Regions from separate parts of the Homo sapiens genome. Here regions 1, 2 and 3 are each linked to region 4. The links are contacts of gene promoters, found by promoter capture Hi-C in human tissues and cell types (Jung and others, 2019). All regions are on one chromosome and are shown on one strand. The core of a region is centred on a gene start or on the middle of the fragment in contact, and the rest is flanking DNA. Distances in the headings are between cores, read along the strand shown.

Region 1 (5,371 bases), core at 1-2,500, 290 kb after region 4:
ATAGGGAGGAAAGCAGGAAATGGGGTAATGGGGAGAGGAAGAAAGAAATGGAAGAGGGGGAAAATGGGGAGGAGGAGGAGGAGGGAAATGGGAGGAGAGAGAGGCTTGGAGAAGAGGAAAATGGAGAGGAGGGAAATGGGAGGAGGGAGAAGATACAGGAGGAGGAAGGAGACAGAGATGAGAGAAGAGGGAGATGGAGAGGAGGAGGGAGATGGGAGGAGGGAGAAGATACAGGAGGAGGAAGGAGCTGGGGAGGAAGGGAGAGGGAGAGGAGGTAAGAGGGGCTGCTCTGAGGACTGCAGGGATTGCGCCCAGGACGGGCTGGCTGGGTGAGGACAGGCCAGGTAGGAAGTCCTAGAGGGTGCTCCCGCCCTCTCTGCCAAGTGCTCCTCCCAGAACCAAGCCCCGACCTTAGCCATTTTGCTTTTGTTGTCAGCAGTCAGGAAGGACATGTTGTTGATCTCATTCTGGACCACAAAGTTCTGCTCCTCGCGCTTGAAGTTCTGGTGGGGGAAGCAGTGTTGCAGACCGGACAGGTGAAGGCAGGCGCCTGTGGGCTGCGGCTCCTCTGGTTGTGGGGAGGGCGGTTGGGGTGGGCACTCACGTGGGACTTGGACCAGTAGATGAAGATCTCGCCCACCATCCTGAACAGCTCCTCCGCGCTGGGATTCGGCTCCGTCAGCCACTGCGCCCTGGGGTCAGCGGAGGGGAGGTGAGGGAGGGGGTGGGGATCCCAGGGAAGGGGGCTGCCCAGAGAGAGATCTTGGAGGAGGAGATGGGGACCAGGAGACATCCAGTCAGAGGGATGGGGTTTCTAGGGTCATCTGGCCATGCAGATGAACATTAAAAAAATTTTTTTTCTCTGTCTCAGCCTCCCGAGTAGCTGGGACTACAGGGGCCCGACACCACACCGGGCTAATTTTTGTATTTTTAGTAGAGACGGGGTTTCACCATGTTGGGCACGCTGGTCTTGAACTCTTGACCTTACGTGATCCACCCACCTCGGCCTCCCAAAGTGCTGGGATTACAGGTGTAAGCCACTGTGCCCAGCTGAACATTTAAAATTTTTTAACGATCCATTCTCTCTCTCTCTCTCTCTTTCTTTCTTTCTGAGACAGGGTCTCAATCTGTCAGGCTGGAGTACAGTGATGCGATCTCCACTCACTGCAACCTCAACCTCCCAGGCTTAAGTGATCCTCCCACTTCAGCCTCCCTGAGTAGCTGGGACTACAGGTGCACGTCACCATGCCCAGGCCTGGCTAATGTTTTATTTTATTTTTTGTAGGAAGAGGGTCTCCCTAGGTTGTCCAGGCTGGTCTTGAACTCCTGGGCTCAAGAGATCCTCTTTCCCTGACCTCTCAAAGTGCTGGGATTACAGGTGTGAGCCACCTTCCCTGGCCTGACTATTCCTTTTTTAAAAAACTTTGTCTAACCTTTTCATCGAAATACATAAATATAATACATGCATGCAATACATAGACACACATGATACATACATATGTATTATATAACCTACATATTAAGAAATATCAACCTGGTGAATTATCACAAATGAACACACTTGTGTAGCCAGCACCGAAGTCAAGAAATAGGACATTTCTGGTCCCTGGAAGTACTATCATGGCCCCTCCCAGCCACTCCCCCTTCCTCCTCCTGAAAAATCATCCATATTCTAACTTCTAGGCTAAAAACTTTTTAAAATTTTTTCTTTCAGCTGGGCGCAGTGGCTCATGCCTGTAATCCCAGCACTTTGGGAGGCCGAGGCGGGCAGATCACGAGGTCAGGAGATCGAGACCATCCTGGCTAACACGGTGAAACCTCATCTCTACTAAAAAATACAAAAAAATTAGCCGGGTGTGGTGGCAGGCACCTGTGGTCCCAGCTACTCAGGAGGCTGAGGCAGGAGAATGGCGTGAACCCGGGAGGTGGAGCTTGCAGTGAGCAGAGATCGCACCACTGCACCCCAGCCTGGGCGAGACTCCATCTCAAAAAAAAAAAAAAAAATTTTCTTTTTTTCTTTTTTGAGACAGGGTCTCGCTCTGTCGCCCAGGCTGGAGTGCAGTGGTGTGATCTCAGCTCACTGCAACTTCTGCCTCCCAGGTTCCAAGTGATTCTCCTGCCTCAGCCTCCCACTCAGGAGTACTTAGCTGGGACTACAGGTATGCGCCACCACGCCCGGCTAATTTTTGTATTTTCAGTAGAGACAGGGTTTTTGCATGTTGCCCAGGCTGGTCTCAAACTTCTGAGTTTGAGACTGAGTTTGAGTGATCCACTCTCTTTGGCCACCCAAAGTGCTGGGATTACAGTCACGAGCCACTGCACCCAGCATAAAATTTCTTTTTTTTTTGAGACAGGGTCAGAATCTAAGTAGGTTCACATATTTTATTTTATTCATTTACTTGTATTAAAAAAAAACAAACCTTATTGAGACAGGGTCTATCTCTGTTGCCCAGGTTGGAGTGCAGCGGTGTGATCATAGCTCACTGCAGCTTTGACCTCCTGGGCTCAAACGATCCTCCCACCTCAGCCTCCCAGTCCCAGCCTGAGGCAAGGACTACAGGTGTGTGTCACCATGCCTGACTAATTTTTGTATTTCTTTTCTTTTTTTGTAGAGACAGGGTCTAGCCATGTTGCCTAGGCTGGTCTCAAATTCCTGAGCTCAAGTGATCCTCCCGCCTCAGTCTCTCAAAGTGCTGGGATTACAGTTGTAAGCCACTGCACCCGGCCCCAAACTTATTCTTATCTGCTCGTGAACATTAAACAGATGGTAAAATATGTAGTTTATTTCTTGGTTTTCTGGCTTCTTTCATTCCACCTAACATTTGTGAAAGCCAATCACATTGTGCATAGAAACAACTTGTTCACTCCCACTGCCGTGGAGTCTTCTGTTGTATGAATAAACCACAATTTGTTCATATTTACTGATTGAAAAATTGAACTATATCCAACAGCAGAGAATGTCACACGACCACCAAGACAAAAGAGGTGAATCTATACATCTTTTTTTTTTTTTTTTTTTTTTTTTTGAGGTGGAGCCTCGCTCTGTTCCTAGGCTGGAGTGCAGTGACACGATCTCAGCTCAGTGCAACCTCTGCCTCCCAGGCTCAGGCGATTCTCCTGCTTCAGCCTCTGGAGTAGCTGGGATTTCAAGCCTGCGTCACTACGCCTGGCTAATTTTTGTATTCATAATAGAGACAGGGTTTCGCCACGTTGGCCAGGCTGGTCTCAAACACCTGACCTCAGGTGATCTGCCCACCTCGGCCTCCCAAAGTGCTGGGATTACAGGCATGAGCCACCACACCCGGCCTATATGTCTTTCATGGTGTATTGTTGTGTTAAAAAAAAAAAAAAAGCAGCTAAGTGTGGTGGCTCACTTCTGTAATCCCAACACTTTGGGAGGCTGAGGTGGGAGGATCACTTGACCCCGGGAATTCAAGACCAACCTGGGCAACATAGTGAGACCCCATAAAAATACAAGAATTAGCCGAGCATGTTGGTGTGAGTCTATAATCCCAGCTACTCAGGGGCAGAAGCAGAGGATCGCTTGAACCCAGGAACCGAGGCTGCAGCAAGCCATGATCATGCCACAGCACTCCAGCCTGGGCAACAGAGAGAGACCCTGTCTCAATAAAAAAAAAAAAAAAAAAAGCAAACTATTCCTTACGGTGTTGTGCATAGTGACAAAGAAATCGACACAATCTAAATGTCCAGCATTAGGAGAATGATTTAAAAAAAATCACACTGGCCAGCTGCATTGGCTCACAGCTGTAATCCCAGCACTTTGGGAGGCCGAGGCAGGCAAATCATGAGGTCAAGAGTTCAAGACCAGCCTGGCCAACATGGTGAAAATCTGTCTCTACTAAAAATACGAAACTTAGCTGGGCGTGGTGGCATGCACCTGTAATCCTAGCTACTGGGAAGGCTGAGGCAGGAGAATCACTTGAACCCGGGAGGTGGAGGTTACAGTGAGCCGAGATCGCGCCACTGCATTCCAGCCTGGGCAATAAAGCGAGGCTCTGTCTCCAAAAACAAAAACAAACAAAAAAAAACCCAAAAACCAAAAACAAAAAGAAACAAACAAGTGGGCTGGCTGTCGTTGGACCAATGTGCTCAAAGCCAGAAGAAACCAGGAGGAAGAGTCAGAAGGTTGGTGGGGCCAGAGCATTGGAAGAAGTTTCTAGCCAGTCAGGAGGCGGAGATCAGATGGGGCTGGAGGACGTGGGAGGTCGGGGCGGAGGGCATGGGGACAGCGGGGCCCCGCTGACCTGTTGTTGTCCACGTAGCGGATGAGCAGCGGATACAGGGCGTAGAGGTCCCGGCAGAGCACAGAGAACTCGTCCCGCACCAGCAGCTCGCCCTCCTGGGCCTCCGCCTTGGCCTCCAGGCGCAGCTGCTCCTCCTCGGACACCACCTTCCCTGCCCTCTTGCGCAGCCGCCCGATAGTTGGGATGAAGTGGGACTGCAGGAGCTCCGGCCGTGCACGGCTCACAATGGGCTGTGCGAACACTGCAGGGGTGCGATGGGCTCTGATGCCACCTCCGGCCTCTGACACAGGCCCCAAACTCCGTTCCCAGCCCGACTCCCAAACAGCATCTCCAACCTAGCAGCTGCCATTTGACCCCAGCCTGACCCTAACCTTGGATATAGTCCCTGAACACTGATCCCAGCCATAGCCCCTAACCTGAACCTAAGACCCAGTCCCTATCCTGTGACCCCAGCCTGGCACAAATCCCTGACCTCTGACCCCCAACAACAGACGCCTCACCTGTTACCTAACTTTTTTTTTTTTTTTGAGACAGAGTTTCACTCTTGTCACCCAGACTGGAGTGCAATGGCGCAATCTTGGCTCACTGCAACCTCTGCCTCCCGAGTTCAAGCGATTTTCCTGCCTCAGCCCCGAGTAGCTGGGATTACAGGCGTCTGCCACCACACCCAGCTAACTTTTGTATTTTTGGTAGAGATGGGGTTTCACCATGTTGGCCAGGCTGGTCTCGAACTCCTGACCTCAGGAGATCCACCCGCCTCGGCCTCCCATAGTGCTGGGATTACAGGCGTGAGCCACTGCACCTGGCCTGTTACCTCACCCTTAACTAGCATGACCCCTGACCCCAATCTTTAACCTCTGACCTGGCCCATACCCAGAGTCTTACCTCACTATGTGATTTCTGGCTATGACCCCAAGGTTGTGAATGGGCTTCTTACCCCAGCCTCTGGCCCCTTACCCTGGCCTCTGATCCCAGCTCCTGATTTCTAGGTTGACCCTGATCTACAACCTGTTTCCTTACACAAATATTTCTTTTTTTTTTTTTTTTTTTTTTAAATAATAGAGACGAGGTTTCACCATGTTGCCCAGGCTAGTCTTGAACTCCTG
Region 2 (5,377 bases), core at 1,555-4,054, 270 kb after region 4:
GATCCAGCAGCTCCTTCAGCAGCTCGATCTGGCTTGAGTCCTAGAGATCCCAGCTCGGTGAGGGCTGGTCTCAGCATACACCTCCCCCACCTCTGTTGCTTCTCCCCCTCCTCACCTACCCAGCAGGGCCTAAACCCGTTTTCTCCCCTCTTACCTCCGAGGGGACCCGAGTCCAGACATGTTCCTCGGAAGCAGGGGAAGGGGCAGAGAGACAAGATTGTGGGGGTGGGGTTGGCACTTGGGGGACGGGCTCGATAGGTGATGGGTAGTGGGAAGGCTGGCAGACAAGGAGGACTGAGAGGCTTGCGGGGCAGACATTTGGGGCAGAGAGAGACAGAGACAGACAGAGACAAACACTGGGGACAGAGACCCAGGTCTAGGAAGGGATGTGAGCCCAGCACTGTGCCTGGCCTACGGTGGGATTGACAGATGTATGTTGAATATAATGTGTGATGGCAAGAGTGGGACTCTGGGTTCAGGAGGAAGGCTGCAGAGACAGCCATGTGCTTTCTGGTAAGCCGTCTGCGGGGAACATAGGGCCACAGTGTAGGGCCCATAGAAACCTCCAATACAAAGTTTTGCCTCATGGCCCCTATTTATGTTAGGTTGAGTCACATAAAATTGCCAACATGTGATCACTTTTGGCTCACAAAGTGGTAATTTCTTTCTTTTTGAGACAGAGTTTTGCTCTTGTTGCCCAGGCCGGAATGTAATGGCGCAATCTCGGCTCACTGCAACTTCTGCCTCCCAGGTTCAAGCAATTCCCCTGCCTAAGCCTCTCGAGTAGCTGGATTACAGGCATGCGCCACCATACCCAGCTAATTTTTTACTTTTAACAGAGATGGGGTTTCTCCATGTTGGTGAGGCTGGTCTCGAACTCCTGACCTCAGGTGATCTGCCCGCCTAGGGCTCCCAGAGTGCTGGGATTACAGGTATGAGCCACCGTGCCAGATCCAAAGTGGTAATTTCATATGGTTCCACCAAATAAAATGGAGAGGGGAGGAGATGATACCAGATAAATGGGATGTAAGGATCTTTTGCTCCCATGCTAGTTCTATCAGTTGTTGATTCCAATCCTAATGTATTTCCACAGTTCCAAAGCTCTGCATTCTGCGCCTAAGGTCCCGACACTCCTAATCTCAAGATCTTACAGTGGGTGGGCGCCTGTGGTTTGTGCCTACCCATGATTCAGTCCCCCTCCTCTCTTTACAATCCCTCAATTTTCACCTGCGGAGTCCCCCATCCCACAGTCAGAGCACATGGGGCTAACCCTACCTCCTGGTTCTATAGGTGGGTATATGACCGGGCCTGGTCAGTCAAAGCTTTCTTTCCTAAGCCTATGATGATTGGTTCAGGGAGGGACATGTGACCCAATAGGCTAGTCAGAGAGAATCTCAGGTTTTTTTTTTTCTTGGAGCTTTCAGGAAAGAGGAGATCTCTTCCCTCTAGGGCTGTTAAGAAGTAGAGTGGATAGGAGCCTGAGGCACCATTTTTTCCAGCCCAGGGAGACAGCCTGCTTGCAAATGCAGTCAAAGAGGAGGCAGTTCTGCTGACATCACTCTAAGCCCTGGATCTGTAATATGAACTGATAAATTCTTTATTTTTCTTAAGCCACCACTTTGCACTGGATTTCTAGCTTTTGCAACCTAGACTAGATGGTGGCGGATGAATTAGCCCTGCAGGATTTGGAATTCTACATGATGATACCAACACTCTCTAGAATTTTAGGATACCAACAGCACAACTTCAGCTGCTGTGACACGGAGGAATTGCATTCTAAGTTTAACTCCTTTTAAAAAGTCAGATGACAACGAATTAGGGTTTCTGCCAGCCCCTGGGGCACCTTTGAGCAAATTAGAAAAAAAGGCGTCCCCTAAAACACTTCCTGTAGGGAAGTTATAACATGCTGGATGCTTTACTGCCATCTGCTGGAAAACTAAACTATTGTAATAAATACACCATTATGTGTAGGATGTGAATGCTCTCAGAGATCGTGCCTTTGTGCAGTGCACGACCTGCGGAACAGTATATGGCAGCCTTGAATATAGTTACCAGACAGAAGCAGAGCAAATGGATTAAGTGTTCGTGAGACATTGGCAAGGCTGCAAAGGGGTGAGGGAAAGAGGAACAAGGATTATGGAAATGGAAGGTGGTGCTCAACAGGGACCTTACATCATGAATGCCTGATATGGGTGTCATCTGCCGCAAGTAAGATAAAGAAGCAAAACATTTCCTCAGCCCCAGGCTCTAATCTAGAAACCAGCCCCATCCTAGCCCAAGGACTGTCCACATCTGCGATGACTCATCAGAGAGAAAAACAGCAATCAATCATAGAGGAGCTCCGGCCATTGGGACGGGGCCAACACGTCAGACCAATGGAAGCGTGGATGGAAAACCAGCTGATTGGTGGGGAGGGAGGGGCAGAGGAGGAGGCGGGGTCATGCAGACAGCCAATCCAGAAAGAGGATGGATTTGGCCACTGAGAGGGAACCAGTCTGGAACATGCCGGGAGCACTCGGGTGACAAACTGACCAAAGGGGCAAGACTTGGAAATGGACCACTTGGGGGACGCCCGGAAGCAGGTGGATGGAGACCAGAGGGGCTCGAACCTGAGCGAGCTTCATCATCATGTGGGCGAACACGTGCAGGAATCCCACCACTGCGTCCCATAGGCGACTGTGCGCCAGGCTCTGCTGGTTCCCGGTGCAGGGACCCTGGGAGGCAGAGTGCCGTGTGGGGGGGAAGGGAATCCCCGAGAAGGGATCAGGGATCACGATGCGGGACCCCCTCCCTTCCCACTCCCGCCCCAGGGGGAGCGCCCTACCTGGATGTACTCAGTGAGGCTGTTGAACACCTGCTTAGCCACCGACATGGCTTTGGAGAAGTTCCTCTTGCCCTGCTCTTCAATGACATCCTTGCCCGAGTAGTACCAGTAGAAGTCGCTGATGGATTCCTGGTGGGGGCGGGTAGGGTGTGAGGGGGTGCTGGGGCCGACCATGGCCCTGCAGCCCCCGACCCAAGTCACACCTGAACCGTCTCACGTCCTCACCTGCAGCCGCAGGAGGTAGTCCACAGTGCAAATGATGATGTTAATAGTGGTCGTGTTCCCTGTCTGTGTCCGTAGGTAGTTCTGGAAATCTGGGGAGATGAAAAGTCATTTATCCAGCACCTCCCATGTGCTAGGGGAGATGAACAGTGGGTCATTTATTCATTTATGCAATACTCATGTGTTGAGTTCCTATTGTATGCCAGAAAGCATATCATCATCAATTTATTTAATAACTATCAAGTACTTACTATGTGACAGAGAAAGATGGATGATCATTTATTCATTTGTCTAAAAATACTGGCCGGGTGGCTCACGCCTGTAATTCCAGCACTTTGGGAGGCCCAGGCAGGCAGATCACCTGAGGTCAGGAGTTTGAGACCAGCCTGACCAACATGGTGAAACCCCGTCTCTACTAAAAATACAAAAATTAGCTGGGTGTGGTGGTGGGCACCTGCAATCCTAACTACTTGGGAGGCTGAGGCAGGAGAATCGCTTCAACCCCGGAGGCAGAGGTTGCAGTGAGTGGAGATCTCACCATTGCAGTCCAGCCTGGGCAACAAGATGGAAACCCCGTCTCAAAAATAAATAAATAAATAAATAAATAATTTTAAAATAGGCTGGGAGCGGTGGCTCACACCTGTAATCCCAGCACTTTGGGAGGCCCAGGTGGGTGGATCACTTGAGGTCAGGAGTTTGAGACCAGCCTGGCCAACATGGTGAAATCCCGTCTCTACTAAAAAAAATACAAAATTAGCCAGGTGTGGTGGCATGTGCCTGTAATCCCAGCTACCTGGGAGGCTGAGGCAGGAGAATTGCTTGAACCCGGAAGGCAGAGGTTGCAGTGAGCCTAGATCATGCCACTGCACTCCAGCTTGGGCAACAAGAGTGAAACTCCGTCTCAAAAAATAAATAAATATAAAAAAATAAAATATAAATATTATTGAGGGCCTGCTATGTGTCAAATGTGGTGGAGCGTCATTTATTCATTCAGTTTTTTCCAACAAATTTGTATATTGACCACCAACTATGTAGCAGGGAGAAATAGAGATTCAGTTCCTCGTTAGTTTCCAAACAATTTTATCAAATTCCTCCTATGTGCTGGGGATATTCATGCATTTATCCAACAAATATTTATTGAGCACCTACTAAAGGCCAGGGAACATATGGATTGGTCACTTGTTCATTTATTCAACATATTTTATTGAGTGTATACTACATCCTCACGAGATTAAGATTGTCACATCCTCTTTGCTACAACAAATTTGTTGCGTTCTTACTATGTGTCATGCAGTATTCTAGGCTCTGGGGATACAGTAGTAAAAAAAAAAAAAACAGTCCCCGGCCTTGGGGGGGATTTTTTTTTTTTTTTGACAAGGTCTCCCTCTGTTGCCTAGGTTGGAGTACTGTGGCATGATCATAGCTCACTGCAGCCTTGACCTCCTGGGTTCAAGTGGTCCTCCCACCTCAGCCTCCCAGGTAGCTGGAACTATAGGTGTGAGCCACCACATCCGGCCAATTTTTAATTTTTTTGTTGAGACCAGCCCAGGCTGGTCTCGAACTCCTGGCCTCAAGCAACCCTCCTACCTTGACCTCCCATAGTGCTGGGATTACAGACATGAGCCGTATGTCCAGCCCCTGCCCTTGTGAAGTTTATATTCTTGTGCAGTAATTTTTTAATCTTTTCTGACTGCAATCTATGGTAGGAAATCCTTTTTTTTTTGAGATACAGTCTTGCTCTGTCACCCAGGCTGGAGTGCAGTGGCATGATCTCAGTTCACTGCAAACTCTGCCTCCCAGGTTCAAGCAATTCTCCTGCCTCAGCCTCCTGAGTAGCTGGGATTACAGGCATGCGCCACCACGCCCGGCTAATTTTTTTGCATTTTTAGTAGAGACAGGGTTTCACCATATTGGACAGGCTGGTCTCCAACTCCTGACCTTGTGATCCACCTGCCTCGGCCTCCCAAAGTGCTGGGATTACAGGTGTAAGCCACCACACCCAGCCGAGGAAATCCTTTTTACATTGAGACCTGATACATGTGTTCAATCTGAAATTATATTCACCTATTCCCGAAAGAGAAGTTTCACATTGCCTTACTCTGTGCCATGCATTCTGTTCTTTTCTGTCCTGTACTGCTCTAGTTAACTACAAAAGAAGAAGTGTGTGCTTCTCATCCTCTCAACCTTGGCTGCACATCAGGACAACTAGGAGGCTTTTAAAAACCCCAGTGCTCAGGCCCAACCCCAGATCAATTGAATTAGAACCTGTAAAGGCAAAACCTGGGCTTAAGTCTCTTTTAAAGCTCCCCAGGCATGCCAGTGTACAATTAC
Region 3 (5,468 bases), core at 1,363-3,862, 470 kb after region 4:
ATGGGTCCCACTGGGGCCTCTGTGTGGCCCCTCTAGGCCATGGAATGTGCTGAGCTCCCGCCCCCCACATACCCTCCTCAGATCATGGCCCCACAGAGGCCCCCAGCAAACCCCACACCCCTGCCAGGTTGCGATCCCTCCCGCCTCCCCCAGGCCCACCTTTGCTGCGGAAGGGGGCAGCCTCCATCTGGATCTGCAGCTGCTCTATCTTCCAGCGGTAGAAGTTGACTGGGGACTGGAAGGTGACCAGCACCAGGGGCTTTAGCCCCGTCAGGTGGCCCATGCGCACCAGGTCCTCAGAGGGCTGAGGGTGAGATGGCCCCACAAGTGTGTCCTTATGGTAGCCTCTGGGTGCCCCCTGCCTTAAGCCCGCCTCTAACAGTCTGTCTCCTGGGCTGTCCGGGGGCAGCACACTGTCCACCATGTGATGGTCAGAGGACATGGTCTAGGTTTGGGGCTTGGATGGGGGATGGAACAGCCTAGGAGGGGGCAGAGGGGTAAGGGGCTGTGGAGGGAGTCGGAGGCCTTCCTGGAGGAGATGACTCCAGAGCCAGTGTCTGCAGACAGAATGTGCATGTAGGGAATACATAGGGAAGGGCAGCATGGGATGAACAAAACTGTGCAGGTGGGAGGGATGCTGGGAAGGTGGGAGGGATGTGGCACCCAGGGTGCTGCTTTCCACTCCAGGGATTCCCAGTTCCAGGCTTAAAAAAAAAAAATTAGATTGCCCAGGCTGGTCTTGAACTCCTGGTCTCAAGTGAGCCTCCCACCTTGGCCTCCCAAAGTGCTGGCATTAAAGGCGTGAGCCATCTCATCTGGCCCCCAGTCTCACTCTTGAGGTGGGCTTCCACCCTCTCTGCAGCAGACTTTCTGCCACCTATGCAAGTCAGAGGACAGCCAAGTTCTGGGCCTTGAGCTTGGGGTGAGTGTAGGATGGGGCGATTACACAGGAAGGGACTGAGGACGAGGGTGACAGGGCATGCCTGGACAACCTCCCAGGGATGCGGGATCCTGGCTGAATAGAAAAGGGTGGGGAGCGCTTAGAGTGGAGATGGGAGAAGAGGAGAAGGATGTTTCAGGCATGCAGAACAGCACCAGTGAAGGCTAAGAGGCGTCCCCGAGAGAAGGCGGCACTCAGGCCACCAAGGGGAGGCCTTGGTTGCTGTGGGACCAGGGCGAGGGATTTACCAGATTCAGCACCTGTGCACAGCCCTTCATCGAGAGGGCTGACTTTCTTTACTTTCTTTGCCAGGCTCCTTTCTTTTCCTTTTTTTTTTTTTTTTCAAGAAGGAGTCTCACTCTGTCGCCCAGGCTACAGTGCAGTGGCATGATCTCGACTCACTGCAGCCTCTGTCTCCTGGGTTCAAGTGATTCTCCTGCCTCAGCCTCCTGAGTAGCTGGGACTACACACGTGCACCACCATGCCCAGCTAATTTTTGTATTTTTAGTAAAGATGAGGTTTCACCACGTTGGCCAGCCTGGTCTCAAACTCCTGACCTCAACTGATCTGCGCGCTTCGGCCTCCCAAAGTGCTGGGATTACAGGCATGAGCCACCAGGCCATTCTTTCTTTGAAAACTGTTTAATTTTTGTAGAGACAGAGTCTACTCTGTTGCCCAGGCTGGCTATTTCTGTAATTTATTTATTTATTTATTTATTTATTTATTTTTTACATGGGACAGGGTCTTGCTATGTTGGCCAGGTTGGTCTTGAACTCTTGGCCTCAAGCAATCCTCCAGCCTTAGCCTCCTAAAATGCTAGGATTACAGGTGTAAGCCACTGCACCTGGCTTTTTTTTTTTTTTTTTAAGATAAGGTCTTGCTCTGTTGCCCAGTCCGGAGTGCAGTGGTGCCATCACAGCTCACTGTAACCTCCACCTCTCCCAGACTTCAGCAATCCTCTTACCTCAGCCTCCCAAATAGCTGGGACTACAGGTACCACTACCACGCCTGGCTAATTTTTTTATTTTTTATTTTTTTTCCGAGACGGAGTTTTGCACTTGTTGCCCAGGCTGGAGTATAAGGGCGCCATCTCAGCTCATTGCACCCTCTGCCTCCTAGGTTCAGGCGATCGTCCTGCCTCAGCCTCCCAAGTAGCTGGGATTACAGGCATGCGCCACCACGCCCGGCTAATTTTTGCATTTTTAGTAGAGATGGGGTTTCACCATGTTGGTCAGGCTAGTCTCGAACTCCTGAACTCAGGTGATCCACCTGCCCTGGCCTCCCAAAGTGCTGGGATTACAGGCATGAGCCACTATGCCCGGCCCAATTTTTTGATTTTTTTTGTAGAGACAGGGTCTCCCTATGTTGTCCAGGCTGGTCTTGAATTCTTGGGCTCAAGCAATCTTCTCTCCCTGGCCTCCCAAAGTGCTGGGATTATAGGTATGAGCCACCACACCCAGCACCAGGCTCTTTTCAATCCTGTCAACTACACCTGTCCCTGGCCCTGCCTGAGTTCCCATTGCAGAGGAGAAGGTGCTAGTGGGGCAGGGACCTCCTTCCTGTGAGGATGACAGTAGCCACTAACACCCTGGTCCTGTCCCCGTCATCTCCTGCCTGGGCAATGTAGCAGCCTCCTCCTTGTCTCACTGCTCCTGCCCTGCTCCCCCAACAACAGGAGGGAGCCAGTGAAGCCTGGAATCAGATCCAATCCCTCCTCTGCATAGGGCCCTCTCAGGCTCTGTCTCAGAGTAAAAGCCAAGTCCTCACCATGGCCCATCAAGCCCCAAAAACCTTCCCCCATCACTTCCCTGACCTCTCCTCCCACACTCCCTCTCACTCACTCTGCTCCAGCCACAAAGTCCTCTTCATAGTTTCTCACACATGCTGACCTCTTTCCTACCTCTGGGCCATCGTGCTGGCTCTTCCCTCGGCCTGGAAAGCTTTACCTGGCTCTCCTAATAATCCCCACTTTTTATCATTTGAGTCTCTGCTCAAGCCTTTCCAGAGTGACCTTCTCCAACGACCCCCACTAAAACAGTGCCCCCCCCTCCTTTCTAACGTATTACCTCATTTTATTATTTGCATTTATTAATACTACTCTCAGAAATTCTTTCATGCCAGCCTTAGGCAACATAGTGAGACCCTGTCTAATTGAAAGTACACTGGTGTGATGGCTTGAGCCTGTAGTCCCTGCTACTTGGGAGGCTGAGGCAGGAGGATCACTTCAGCCCAGGAGGTCGAGGCTGCAATGAGCTATGATCAAGCCACTGCATTTCAGCCTGGGTGACAGCGCAAGACCCTGTCTCTAAAAAAATAAAATTATTGGCCGGGCGCGGTGGCTCACATCTATAATCCCAGCACTTTGGGAGGCCGAGGCAGGTGGATCACCTGAGGTCAGGAGTTCAAGACCAGCCTGACCAATATGGAGAAACCCCATCTCTACCAAAAATACAAAATTAGCCGGGCGTGGTGGCGCACATCTGTAGTCCCAGCTACTTGGGCAGCTGAGGCAGGAGAATCGCTTGAACCCAGAATGTGTAGGCTGTACTGAGCCGAGATCATGCCACTGTACTCCAGCCTGGGTGACAGAGTGAGACCCTGTCTCAAAAAAAGAAAAAAAAAAAGACTCTGTGATACTGGCATATGAATAGGCATTTAGAGCAATGAATTATTGAGAAATCAATTCATTTAGAATAGAATTGAGTCCAGAAAGAAACCCTTATATTTATATTCAATTGATTTTTGACAAAGGTGCCAAGACAATTCAGCGGGGAAAGAATAATCTCAACAGGCCAGGCATGGTGGCTCACGCCTGTAGTCCCAGCACTTTGGGAGGCCAAGGCAGGTGGATCACCTGAGGTCAGGAGTTCGAGACCAGCCTGGCCAACATGGTGAAACCCTGTCTCTACTAAAATATAAAAATTAGCCAGGCATGGTGGCGCATGCCTGTAATTCCTGCTACTCAGTAGGCTGAGGCAGGAGAATCGCTTGAACCTGGGAGGGGGAGGTTGCAGTGAGCCAAGATCACGCCACTGCACTCCAGCCTGGGTGGCAGAATGAGATTTTGTCTCAAAAAAAAAAAAGAAGAATCTCACCAAACGGCATTGGGACAACTGGATATGCACGTGTAAAAGCTTGGACCTCACACCATATACAAAAATTAACTCAAAATGGATGAAAGACCTAAATGTAAGAGCTAAAACTAAAAATCTCTTGAAGAAAATATGAGTAAGTCTTCATGATCTTTAGTTACGCAAGGCCTTTGTAAATGACACAAAAAACACAAGCAAAAAAAAGAAAAAAATTTATAAACTGGGCTTCACCAAAATTAAAAACTTTAATTCCTGCTACTCAGGAGGCTGAGGCAGGAGAATCGCTTAGAACCCAGGAGGCAGAGACTGCAGTGTGCCGAGATTGCGCCACTGCACTCCAGCCTGGGCGACAGAGTGTTAGGAGAAGCTGAGGCAGGGCTTGCATGTCTGACATAATGTAAAAGAGTCTTGGAACATGTCCGGGGTCCAGGGTCTAAAACCCCTTGTGGCCTTTGGAACACCAAGCTCTGTGCTAAAGGGTGGAAGCCTACCATCATGCACCATAATCTAAGCCAAGGGCATAAAATCCCTCATGGCCTCGATAGAATCCAGGGCTCATGGCTCTGGAATGTGTCTAGACTTGCTTGCTCCTTGCGCTCCCAGGATTGATTGTATCTTGAGTTAAAAGAACCTGCTCTCCATTATCTCAAGCAGCAGAGCAAATGCTAAACCATCACAGCTGTAAATCATGTGCTTAATGCAATGTGCCCTTTTGACCTCCACATTCTCACCACCTGTTTCTTTGTTGGATTACCAATAAATAGCGTGGGCTCCCAGAGCTCGGGGCTTTAGCAGCCTCCATACACTAGCAATGGCCCTCTGGTCCCACTTTACTTCTCTCTCTCAAACTGCCTTTTTCTCAATCCTTTGACTCCGCCGGACTTCGTCGCCACCCCCTCCCCCCGACCTGGTGTTGGGTCTGATCACCCCAACAACAGAGTGAGACTCCATCTCAAAAATTAATTAATTAATTAATAAAAACAAAGACAGGGTCTCACTCTGTCACCCAGGCTGGAGTGTAGTGGCATGATCACAGTTCCCTGCAGCCTCAACCTCCTAGGCTCATTATGATGATCCTGCCTTAGCATTTCTACAGGTGGGAGCCACCATGCCCAGCCAAATTCACCTAGGCTAGTCTTGAGCTTCTGGATGCAAGTGATCCTCCCGTGCTGGTGTGGTGGCGCACAACTAGTCCCAGCTATTCAAGAGGCTGATGCAGAAGGTTCACTTGAGCCCAGGAGGTCAAGGCTGCAATGAGCTGTGATTTCACCATTGCACTCCAGCCTGGGTAACAGAGTGAGACCCTGCCTCAGAAAAATAACAAAAATAACAATGGTGAATTTTATGGTGTGTGAATTATATATATGGTAAACTCCTACTCATAGCTTTAAAAACCTGGAACAAGGCCGGGTGAGGTGGCTCACGCCTGTAATCCC
Region 4 (4,825 bases), core at 2,326-4,825:
TGGACGTGGGTTTGGCTGCCGATGTAGGAACACTGCAGCGCCTGCCCAAGGTCATCGGGAACCAGAGGTGGGTGCAGGGGGTGTGGGGGTGTGGGCAGGAGACCCCAGAGCATCTCCCAGCCCCGGGGTGGCAGCCGCCTCCTGATGCACGCTTGCCTTTGCAGCCTGGTCAACGAGCTGGCCTTCACCGCCCGCAAGATGATGGCTGACGAGGCCCTGGGCAGTGGGCTGGTCAGGTAGGGCCATGGCCGTGGTAGCTCAGTGCTGGGGGCAGCCAGGCCTGGAGGGTTGGAGGCCTCTCCGGGTCCCCTTGTCTCCTCGCTCTAGAATTCCTAGTGGCATCCTTTCTTGGTGAGCTCATTTCTTTATTGTGGGGTCAGCCCCCTGCTCTGATTGGGCTGTTTCTCTGGGGTCTTGGGCCTTCCTCTGTGAGTGGCCACTTCTTCATCTGCGGGAGGCTGGAGGAGAGAGCCCTTCCCAGCCCACCCGGTCCCTGATCTCTTTCACTGCAGCCGGGTGTTCCCAGACAAAGAGGTCATGCTGGATGCTGCCTTAGCGCTGGCGGCCGAGATTTCCAGCAAGAGCCCCGTGGCGGTGCAGAGCACCAAGGTCAACCTGCTGTATTCCCGCGACCATTCGGTGGCCGAGAGCCTCAACTACGTGGTAAGGTGCACGCTCCGACCAATCACAGCCCTCCTCTAACCCCAGGCGACCAACCAGGGTGCAGGGTGCTCTCATGCTTTATCCTGATTGGCCCCTGCTAATCTCTCTCCTCGTTCTCTCTCAACACCCTCGGTACCAGGCGTCCTGGAACATGAGCATGCTGCAGACCCAAGACCTCGTGAAGTCGGTCCAGGCCACGACTGAGAACAAGGAACTGAAAACCGTCACCTTCTCCAAGCTCTGAGAGCCCTCGCGTCCCAGGCCCCAGCCAGGGGGCCGGCCTTGTCCCGCCTCATCCACAGAAAGGGAGGATGGGCGATGACAGTTGTTTCTATGCCTTCTGACCCAGTTTCCCAGTTTATAACTTTATGACAATGAGTTTCTCAAGCCCAAGGCCTTATCTTCACCCCACAAACAATAAAGCAAAGTAAAGAACCTGGTGCCCTTCTTGGATAGAGGAGAGGTGGGAGGGGCTGGGATGCACCTAGGGGCTCCAGAGACTGCAGTCCTGAAGGCTGGGGCTAGAGGTTGGATGCATGGGAATGGGTGGCATGGAGGTGATGGCCATTCAGACTGGCAGCGGGCAGGCGAGGGGCACAAGGAATTCCGGGGCGGAGGGAGTGAGCAAAAGTCGCTGGGGTCCCTCTGGGTTGCAAGGCTTCCTGGTCTCCCTGCCTGCCCTGGGGTTGAGGGTGGCGTTCGTGCCCTGCCTGGCACCTCTCACTGCACAGCACATGGGATCTGATGCTGGCGTCTCACACCTGTAATCCCAGCACTTTTGGAGGCTGACGCAGGTGGATTGCCTGAGCTCAGGAGTTTGCAACCAGCCTAGTCAACATGTTGAAACCCAGTCTCTACTAAAAATACAAAAATTAGCTAGGTGTGGTGGCAGGTGCCTCTAGTCCCAGCTACTCGGGAGGCTGAGGCAGGAGAATCCTTGAACCCAGGAGGTGAGTTTGCAGTGAGCTGAGATCATGCTGCTGCAGTCCAGCCTGGGTGACAGAGTGAGACTCTGTCTCAAAAAAAGAAAAAACAAAACAAAAAAGGACTTTGGGGTTTCTGGCCGGGTGCAGTGGCTCATGCCTGTAATTCCAGCACTTTGGGAGGTTGAGGCAGGTGGATCACTTGAGGTCAGGAGTTTGAGACCAGCCTGGCCAACATGGCAAAACCTGGTCTCTACTAAAAATACAAAAATTAGCCAGGCGTGGAGTAAGCCTGTAATCCCAGCTATTCAGAAGGCTGAGGCAGGAGAATCCCTTGAACCTGGGAGGTGGAGGTTGCAGTGAGCTGAGATGGTGCCACTGCACTGCAGCCTGGGTGATAGAGCAAGACTCTGTCTCAAAAATGAGCAAACAAAACTTTGGGATTTTTTATCCATATATCATCCCAATCTTCCGGATTTATGTTTGGAATGACTGCAAGAGACCAAGCATTAAGTTAATGACTTCTATATGCTATGTCCTGTTCTGAGCATTTATTATCTTAATGATCAAGGACTCTATGAAGTTGATACTATTATGATTATTATTATTATGACTATTATTGTTGCTATTTTTAGAGACGGACTCTTAGTCTGTCACCCAGGCTGGAGTGCAGTGGCATGATCATAGCTCACTGTAACCTTAACTCCTGGGTTCAAGCGATCCTCCTGCCTCAGCCTCTGAGTAGCTAGGAATACAGATGTGTGCTACCATGCCCAGCTAATTTTTATTTTATTTTTGTAGAGATGGGGGTCTCACTATGTTGCCCAGGCTGGTCTTGAACTCCTGGGCTCAAGCAGTCCTCCTGCTTCAGCTTCCCAAATTGCTGGGATTGTAGGCACAAGCCACCACACCCAGCCTAAGGTTGATACTACTCTTTTCTTTATTTATTTATTTTTCTGAGTGGCAGTTGGACCCACAGCTAGAACTTATTTGGCAGATTAATAACATACAGGCATTACTGGATCACAAATTCATTTTTAAAATATTTTGATAGCTATTCAATACTTGTTTCCTCTCTTATGAATTCCTTTTTTTTTTTTTTTTTTTTTGAAACAGAGTCTCCATCTGTCATCCAAGCTGGAGTGCAGTGGCGTGACCTTGGCTCACTGCACTCTCCTCCACTCAGGTTCAAGTGATTCTCCTGCCTCAGCCTCCAAGTAGATGGGATTATAGGCACCCACCACCATGCCTGGCTAATTTTTGTATTTTTAGTAGAGACTGGGATTTTGCCAGGCTGGTCTCGAACTCCTGCCCTCAGGTGATCCATCCACCTCGGCCAGTCAAAGTGCTGGGATTACAGGCATGAGCCACTGCACCCAGCCGATACTACTATATCCCCATTTTACAGATGAGCACATGGGCAAATTGAGGGTAAGGCACTGACCCATGATCATACAGCTGAGAAGTGGCAAAGGCAGGATTTGAACCTAGAACCTCTGGCTCCACACACTAGTAATCTAAACCACTCTCCCTACAATACAACATACGTGGTAAAGATGTGTGGTGGGCACGCAATCAACGTAGGTCCCTTCACAGTTGCTGGGAGAGGCAGGAATTTGCAGTTCCTCCGCGTTCTCCTCCTCCGCTGCCCACCTGTCCTGGGTCATTCCTGCAGCCTGCCCTGCCCTGCCTGGTCTCACCCTCCCTCTGCCAACAGAAGTCTGGGCAGGGTTTTATGGGCTCTGATAAGGCCCTGGCAGGGCCGAAGTTCATGAGCACTTCCTCTTTGCAGGAGGGCGTAGGGGAGGGGACCCAGGTGATTTGGGTCCTGGCTGGTCACCAGGGAAGCTGGCAAGGGAAGGGAGACTAGGGTGCGCTCTAGGAGAAGCCGACAGCCTGAGAGTCCCAGAAGAGGAGCCCTGTGGACCCTCCCCTGCCAGCCACTCCCTTACCCTGGGTATAAGAGCCACCACCGCCTGCCATCCGCCACCATCTCCCACTCCTGCAGCTCTTCTCACAGGACCAGCCACTAGCGCAGCCTCGAGCGATGGCCTATGTCCCCGCACCGGGCTACCAGCCCACCTACAACCCGGTGAGATGCCAGCTCAGGCCCCACTCCGCCCGCAGCTCCGTCCATAAGCCCTCACACCAATTTTCCCCACTCTGATCCTGGGGGGCCCCATCTGACTCTGTGGTCTGATTTACCCAAAGCTGACCCCGACCCTCGATTTACTCCTACCCTGACCTCAGGCTGTCTGTGTCCACGTCTAACTGTTGGCCCTCGTCATCTTCAACCTGGTCCTCCCCCATGGTTTCCTCTCTCCTGCTTAAGGGACTGGGGGGCTTTTCTGGGAGGGGTAAAGGCTGCAACAGGCAGATGGCTTGTGAGTCCCCTCACCAGGCCTCTTCTCCAGACGCTGCCTTACTACCAGCCCATCCCGGGCGGGCTCAACGTGGGAATGTCTGTTTACATCCAAGGAGTGGCCAGCGAGCACATGAAGCGGTAAGACCCTCCCCAAGCCAGGCCGGGCTGGCAGGGGACTTCCAACTGGGTGCTCTGGGCCTGGCTGTTGGGGGCTTTCTGCCCTTACCCCACCCTGGTGGAGAGGGGACTCTTTTTCTGCCCCACCCAATAGCCAGAGATGAATCTGGGGCAGATCAGGAGTGGGGACGTGGGGGCCAGAAGGTTCAGGGAGGGCTCACCGTGAGAGGCAGTCCCTGAGTTGGACATTAGACTGAAGCTGATGGGTGCAATGGCAGGAATTCAGATCACAGGCTCAGAGCCGGGTCCCCGAGTTAAAATCCCAGCTCTGCCACTCCCCAGCTCTGTGTTGGTGAAAGAGTGAAAGTGACTATACCTCTCTGTGCTTCATTTTCTTTTCTTTTCTGTTTTTGTTTTTTTTGTTTTTTTTTTTGTTTTGAGATGGAGTTTTGCTCTTGTCGCCCAGGCTGGAGTGCAATGGCATGATCTTGGCTCACTGCAACCTCTGTCTCCCAGGTTCAAGCGATTCTCCTGCCTCAGCCTCTTGAGTAGCTGGGATTACAGGCATGTGCCAGCACACTGGCTAATTTTTGTATTTTTAGTAGAGATGGGGTTTCACCATGTTGGTCAGGCTGGTCTCGAACTCCTGACCTCAAGTGATCCTCCCATCTCGGCCTCCCAAAGTGCTGGGATTACAGGCGTGAGCCACTGCGCCTGGCCCAGTCTTAGCTTTTTAAAAAGGGCCTTAACACGTTGA

The links. The method cuts DNA at HindIII sites, captures the fragments that hold promoters and counts their contacts. A contact is called where the count stands out against the background at its distance.
Region 1: a fragment that was not itself captured here is called in contact with the fragment with the promoter of LGALS4 in region 4 in 1 of the 25 tissues and cell types used here (bladder).
Region 2: a contact is called between a fragment that was not itself captured here and the fragment with the promoter of LGALS4 in region 4, in 2 of the 25 tissues and cell types used here (adrenal gland and lymphoblastoid cells).
Region 3: a fragment that was not itself captured here is called in contact with the fragment with the promoter of LGALS4 in region 4 in 1 of the 25 tissues and cell types used here (spleen).

The regions. Positions count from the first base shown.
Region 1 is chr19:38,518,349-38,523,719 of GRCh38, reverse strand. RYR1 (ryanodine receptor 1) reads right to left here. Exons shown (of 106, transcript NM_000540.3): 67 at 4,266-4,506; 68 at 605-692; 69 at 411-503. Among named protein-coding and RNA genes, the nearest start is that of MAP4K1-AS1, 75 kb to the left of the region's middle. The HindIII fragment of the contact is 3,952 bases long and covers 1-3,226 here.
Region 2 is chr19:38,541,108-38,546,484 of GRCh38, reverse strand. RYR1 (ryanodine receptor 1) reads right to left here. Exons shown (of 106, transcript NM_000540.3): 85 at 3,050-3,138; 86 at 2,825-2,953; 87 at 2,610-2,714; 88 at 1-40. Among named protein-coding and RNA genes, the nearest start is that of MAP4K1-AS1, 53 kb to the left of the region's middle. RefSeq lists enhancers at 1,793-1,882, 2,233-2,292. The HindIII fragment of the contact is 5,194 bases long and covers 208-5,377 here.
Region 3 is chr19:38,338,416-38,343,883 of GRCh38, reverse strand. CATSPERG (catsper channel auxiliary subunit gamma) reads right to left here. Exons shown (of 29, transcript NM_021185.5): 4 at 160-304. Among named protein-coding and RNA genes, the nearest start is that of CATSPERG, 5.3 kb to the right of the region's middle. RefSeq lists an enhancer at 1-539. The HindIII fragment of the contact is 4,605 bases long and covers 310-4,914 here.
Region 4 is chr19:38,811,695-38,816,519 of GRCh38, reverse strand. It overlaps LGALS4 (galectin 4), which reads left to right and starts at 3,575. Exons shown (of 10, transcript NM_006149.4): 1 at 3,575-3,678; 2 at 4,001-4,089. The coding sequence starts at 3,634. It overlaps ECH1 (enoyl-CoA hydratase 1), which reads left to right. Exons shown (of 10, transcript NM_001398.3): 7 at 1-67; 8 at 165-236; 9 at 513-663; 10 at 803-1,098. The coding sequence ends at 907. RefSeq lists a silencer at 565-765. The HindIII fragment of the contact is 29,723 bases long and covers 1-4,825 here.